Regions from separate parts of the Homo sapiens genome. Here region 1 is linked to region 2. The links are contacts of gene promoters, found by promoter capture Hi-C in blood cells and fetal thymus (Javierre and others, 2016). All regions are on one chromosome and are shown on one strand. Each heading gives the region's core, a stretch centred on a gene start or on the middle of the fragment in contact. The rest is flanking DNA. Distances are from core to core; before and after follow the strand shown.

Region 1 (3,295 bases), core at 796-3,295, 1.5 Mb after region 2:
CCCCACATTATGGCTCCCAGACACCCAGAACTGACCTTCATCCCAGCTTTCCCATATAGCCACTTATCCACAGTTAATTGACTAGTACTGTTAAAATATTTTGTTTTTAAACTTAGGAATATAGAAAAGGAGTAGGGAGTATTATAAAGAACTGGGATTTTTTGCAGTTTTCCAAGACCTACTGTGTCCAGTACAGGAGCTGCTGGCCACATATAGCTACTCAAATTTAAATTAATGAACATTTGTTAAGATTAATAATTAGTTTCTTAGTGACACTACCTGTATTTCACCAGCCATATTTCAGCAGCCATATGAACAGCATTGCCCCACACTAGGGGGTTCCTGTGACCATCTACACACATGTTGCATTCTTAAACATCTGTCACATTCTTCAAGATCTCTCCTTCCTGAAACATTTGCAGACATTCTGTTTCCCTTGACGTAGTTTATTAGGAAAACTACTAGATCTTTACATGAACATGCCAGTATTTTTATTTTCTATTTGTATTTCAGAAATTCTAATGTCTAATAGATAAAGCGTTTGAGATAGAATTGAGCTTCTCTTCTGAAAAGCTAGCTCCATATATCTGCCCTCATTCATTTACCTTGGAAATGAATACTGAGTAGCCAGGAAGTTTTGTAAGCCCCTGTGGATCTTGCGTAGTCACTAATTGAAAGAAGGGTATAATTGAAAATTGCACTTACGTTTTGTCACATTTGTTTTTCAAGGAGGAAAGCCAAGTATCTGTGACTTCAGCAGATCCAGTTTTTCAAGTGCCAATTTCAAAGGCAGTTCAACTTACTACGAATGATGCCATAAAAACCACTCTGCTGGTAGAATTGGACATTTCAGTAAGTTGCAAAATTTATTTCTCAGCACAGTAATATTGTCAGGATGTGCAGAAAGAGTTGTGTGGTGCTTGGTTATATATGCTGAGTGGTGTGCTGCTTGGTTACATATGCTGAGTTGTGTGCGGCTTGGTTACATGTGCTGAGTTGTGTGGTGCTTGGTTACATATGCTGAGTTGTGTGGTGCTTGGTTACATATGCTGAGTTGTGTGGTGCTTGGTTACATATGCTGAGTTGTGTGGTGCTTGGTTACATATGCTGAGTTGTGTGGTGCTTGGTTACATATGCTGAGTTGTGTGGTGCTTGGTTATGTATGCTGAGTTGTGTGGTGCTTGGTTATACATGCTCAGAAGAATGAGAGGTCTCTGACAGGACATCTTGCCATTTTATTCCTGACCCATCATTTTTTTCTCTCTTCTATTTTCACACCTATTTTCTTTCCACTTCAGGGAAGGACTAGGGAAGAATGGCTGGAGGAGATTCAGCCTGAGAGGAAGATGCTGGCTTACTCAATAAGCCATGAAAGAATAATGGGATCAGAACAGCATTTTATATATAAGAGGCCCAGGAAAGGAAGCTGTCCACTAAGGTCAGCCAGGAAGTTAGAAATAGAGCCTAAGGTCAAACGAGGTGGCTCTCGCCTATAATCCCAGCACTTTGGGAGGCTGAAGGCGGTCACTTGAACCCAGGAGTTCCTGGGTAACATGGCAAGACCTTGTCTCTACAAAAAAATACAATAAGTAGCTGGGCATGGTGGTGTGTACCGATGGTCCCAGCTACTTGGGAGGCTGAGGTGGGAGGACTGCTTGAGCCTGGGAGGTTGAGACTACAGTGGGCTGTAATTGTGCCACTGCACTCCAGCCTGGGTGACAGAGTGAGACCCTGCCTCAATTTTTTTAAAAAAAGAAAAGAAATAGAACCCAGACAGGCAGGTTAGGGTTAATTCCTCAGAGCAGTGGTTTTGATTTCTTGAGAATCTGGAAAAAATTATGGACTCTCCCAAAAAATGATTACACTTGTCCCTTAGTATCTTCGAAGGATTTGTCCCAGGACCCCTTTCAGATACCCAAATCCTCAAAGCTCAAGTCCCTTATGTAAAATGTTACAGTATTTGTATATAATCTATGCACATCCTCCCCTACACTTTAAGTCATCTGTAGATTACTTACAGTATCTAACACCACGTAAGTAGTTGCTATACTGTATTTTTAAGTTTACATTATTTTTATTGTTATTTTTTATTGTTTTTTTCCGTCCCAAATATTTTCCATTCAGGTTTGGTTGATTCTGAGGGTGGAGAACCTGAGGATATGGAGGGCCAACTGTATATAGAAACATTTACGTACAGTTTTAGTCTGAGATGTGCCTCGATGCACCCCCTCCATGGGCCCCCTTCCTACCCTCCACACCCTGCTGGAATCCATTGACCTTAGGTTAAGAAACTGACTGATAATCCTAAAATAAGTGTTTGAGTACCTCTTCAAAGTCATTTAGCTCAACCGTTTATTTTATGAAAGTCTTGAGAGGTTAAGTGGGTTATTCTTTCAGAAAAGCAAGGGCACATTAAGGCTGTTGGTGTAGATTTAATCAAACTTCCTAACAGAAAAAAATACAATGTGTCAAAACTAGATGGTTTTGCATCCATAAATATTAATACTATGTACACCAAAATATTTTTTATTCTGGTATTTTACATTTTTGTCATAAAGAGGCAAGGGTTGGTCTGTGCTTAGTCCAGTCTCTCTCCCTTGCTGGCAAGAAATGTGAGCTTGTGTCATTGTGAGAGGCTCCTCCCCAGAGCCCTGGCCTGCATCTGTATCACTCTGGGGCTTAGAGGCAATGGGCCTAGTAATAGACTTGACTTGGGAAGTGGTGACTTTTTCAGCCCATGTTTGCTCACAACCAGTATCGAGCCAGATAGTGTAATGTTTTATACTTAAGGAAATAAAGTACCCTTTCCTGTCCCCTAAAGGAAAAGAGTAAAGTAAGGAGAAGAAAATTGAAAACCAATGCATTTGACCATAATTAGTTTCTTTTGGTCATAATGTATGTTTTCGTGTGTGTGTGCATGTATGTTTTTGTAAGAGGGATTTTTATATTTACATGGGTTATTGAAAACACCATAGGACCTTACTTTGTAGAGAACAAGGAAGGTCTGACTTCCATTCTTTAAGTATGATAAAAGGCAAAACACTGGGTAACTACCAGATTTCGTTTTAATAGTAACTGCTAATAATGAAAGTATGTTTATTTGGTTAGTTGGGCTTATTTTTTAAAACAATTGTGTGTTTTTTTTTTTGAAATTCTATTTTCTGAGTTCACATATTAAAATCATAATATTGAAAACTATATTTTTGTTACCCTACAGCTTAAACTATGTAACACGTATAATGTATTTTTTTTTTTTCATTTTGGCTCTTCTCTAGAATACAGACTTTTCCTATCA
Region 2 (3,154 bases), core at 508-3,007:
TAGCCCTCATAGGACTTTTCACCTCTTAAGGAAAAAAGAAAGTTTTGTGGCTGTTCTTTAGCCTAAGCAGGGCTTTGAGGACCTATGATGTATTTCATATATTTAATAAGCTTTTATTTACATGTAACTTTTTTTCCACAATAGAATATTAAGGATATTCTTTTTTTTCGTTTTGTAATGCCATTAGAACGGAAGTTCCATAAGGGCAGGTATTTTTGTATTTTTGTCTATTTTTTTTTCCACTGGCACATCCCCAGCACCCAGGCTGTGCCTACCACACAGCAGGCACTCGAATGCCAGTGATGAAGAAGTCACGATACCACACCATAACTGAACAAGATTTATACCCAAGACTAATATCAAGAATGTTACTTACTCAAAAACTTCTAACGGTACAGTAATATCATGAAGCTGCTGTCTGCACTTGTCAATATCCTGTAAGCCAGTAACAATAAAATTCCTGGGGGAAAGGCAAACACACAGGCATCTGGTTAATTTCGCTTGACAGCATAAGCACCACCCACAGAGCTACCCAGCCAACCGGGGCTCCACGCAAGTTCGTTCTCCTCACAGCTATGCGGGTTACACACGGTTCTGACCTCTTTGGTTAGCTACAGGATTCCTAGGACACCGTTAGAGTTACAAAATACCCTTAAATATTTGTTACTTTCCTTCTCAACTAGAAATTGCCAGTAAGGGGGATGGAGAGGGAACCTGATGAAAAATATGAACCTTCTCTCAAAAACAATTACCTGACTGTGCATATGACTGTGTGTGCGGTTTCAGCGAACACATGAGGCAGCGGACTATACTCAAAGTCTGAGGGAAAGAAAGCCATACTGTCTGGTTTAGCTTCCTCTCCTCTCTGGAGCCTTCCTACAGCATCAGGCTGGTCTGGCTATTCCCACAGCACTAGGTATGGAACCTCGAGTGCAACATTTTCTATGTCCGTGCCACATATAAAGCCCTTCTCGAAAGTGCTGTACTTGCATTTGCCTTTTCTCCAACCCAGGGCCTAGCAACATGGGCAGCACAAGGCTGTTGCCAAGAAATAATAATAATAAACGTTCTGCAACCTTTCTCAGCACCACCTCCCCGCTATTTCCTCCACTGTCAGGCCTATGCGGCAGGTGGCTTCGGAGCCTCACCTTCTGAGGCCTAGTTTAGGGCGTGCACTCACTGTGGAGCCTGCCTCCCCTCTGGAGACAGGGACTGAATTCCCAGAAGGGCTCCAGGAGGAAAAGGCTGGGAGGGGGTTACACATGAGAGGGGAGACGCTAGAAGAGAAAGCATGATTCCCTTGATAGGGAAACGTAAAGTATATCATCTGGCCATGACGACGTCTCCAAAGGGGCCTCAAAGAGGTTGGCTCTTGGCAACAGGCTGGAGCGCGGGCCCCGCCCTCTGAACACAGCCAGGAAAGGCGCCCCGGGCTCCGGGACCAGACCAGAGGGCTGGCGGGGCACGAGTAGCGGTCAGGCTCGGCTCGGGCTCCCTAGATCCCCGCTCCCCTAGCACACGCTTCCCGGCCAGGCCCTGGGGAGACCCCGGCAGCCTCGGGCCGCCACTCACAGCTTTTGGTTGAGCCCGGCCTGGCTGCTGGGCTGGAAGTCACTGACGATGATGCCGAGCTGCCGAATGTTCTCCACGAACTTCTCCAGGTGCTCCTCTAGGTGGTCAAACTTCTCCGCCATCGCCTCGGCCCGTCCCCGACCCACACAGCCTCAACCAGCAGCGCCGCAGGCGTGGCCCTACGCTCCCGCTTCCTGCTTCCGTCCGGACAGATACGACTTCCGTTTCCTCTGGGGGAGCGCGGGCGAGCTCTTGGGGGCGGAGCCTCGTTATCGGGACGGGCGTGTTGGGGCGGGGCCTAAGTGCGGGGCAGGGCGGGCTTTCGGGGATGCGGTCTGGATTCTGGAGGAGGCCTCGGCGCGCAGCTGGGCGAGTACTAACTGTTTGCACTCTCATCAGACCTGCCTCGGTCATGGGAGAAGTTGAAGACTTTCTGCAATGCAGCATCTTCAAGCAATACACACATGGATGAAAATCCTAAAGTTTGCATGAAGGACCAATAACGGTAGTTTCCCTGCCCCTCTACCAGAACCCCTGGGATCAGCGCCTGCCTGCCTCCTTTCTTCTATGTAATCGGCGGCCACCTCCCCTAGCTCTTGCTGCTAACCATGCTTCCCGGACACCTGCTGCCTTCGTAGGTCAGGGTCTCACCTCCTCGGGCCAATTCTGACCAAACAGCACCCTGTGGGGTTGCCCTGTCTTAGTAAACTGCTGTTTATCTCATTGAAATTCAGTTTAGGTCATTTCACTCTTATGTTTAAGAAACTTTTCTGCCCGATCTCCTATGATAGCGGATATCTCCTCTAGCCTGTTTGAATTTCTCAAGTGATTTATTTTACTGAATATATTTGTGGCCTGTACTTTTCAGTGCCTAGAAACAGGCAAAGTGAGGGAGCTCCTTTGCTAGATGATCTTCAGAGCCTCTCCCAGCTGTGACCAGAAATGGAAAGCCAGAGAAGGTAAGTGACTTGCCAAACTTATGGAATCAGGGCACTCCAGTTGGTGGGCTGGGCTGATAAACAGAAATGTTACATAAAATACTTCTCTCCTGATTTAACAACAATTAACTTTAGGGAATTATAAAACAAGATGGAGGCTGGGCGTGGTGGCTCAGGCCTGTAATCCCAGAACTTTGGAAGGCCAAGGCAGGTGGATTACCTGAGGTGAGGAGTTCGAGACCGACCTGACCAATATGGAGAAACCCTGTCTCTACTAAAAATACAAAAATTAGTCAGACATGGTGGTGTGCGCCTGTAGTCCCAGCTACTTGGGAGGCTGAGACAGGAGAATTGCTTGAACCCAGGAGGCAGAGGTTGCAGTAAGCCGAGATCATGCCACTGCACTCCAGCCTGGGCAACAGAGCAAGACTCAAAAAAAAAAAAAAAAGGTGGAAATAAAATATTAGACAAATAAAAAATTTTAAGTTATTAGGTAGAGGTAGCGACATGGAGTGAACGGCCTTTCTCAATTTCATAAGTAAGAAAGATAGATAATTGATGGAACTTAGGCTTTGGTAAGTATTTATTTTAAAAATTTAAGGGTATCTCTTTGCTAGTATATATAATTCCCAAACTAGTAGACA

Evidence for each region. Contacts are between HindIII fragments. The CHiCAGO score rates a contact against its expected background, and 5 or more counts as called.
Region 1: a fragment that was not itself captured here is called in contact with the fragment with the promoter of MED10 in region 2 in 1 of 17 cell types (non-activated CD4 T cells); the score reaches 5.4 in non-activated CD4 T cells.

Annotation. Positions count from the first base shown.
Region 1 is chr5:7,882,426-7,885,720 of GRCh38, forward strand. MTRR (5-methyltetrahydrofolate-homocysteine methyltransferase reductase) reads left to right here. Exons shown (of 15, transcript NM_002454.3): 6 at 730-852; 7 at 3,276-3,295. Among named protein-coding and RNA genes, the nearest start is that of MTRR, 15 kb to the left of the region's middle. The HindIII fragment of the contact is 5,453 bases long and covers 1-3,295 here.
Region 2 is chr5:6,376,790-6,379,943 of GRCh38, forward strand. It overlaps MED10 (mediator complex subunit 10), which reads right to left and starts at 1,758. Exons shown (of 4, transcript NM_032286.3): 1 at 1,573-1,758; 2 at 377-460. The coding sequence starts at 1,694. RefSeq lists enhancers at 1,493-1,702, 1,993-2,212. The HindIII fragment of the contact is 6,030 bases long and covers 109-3,154 here.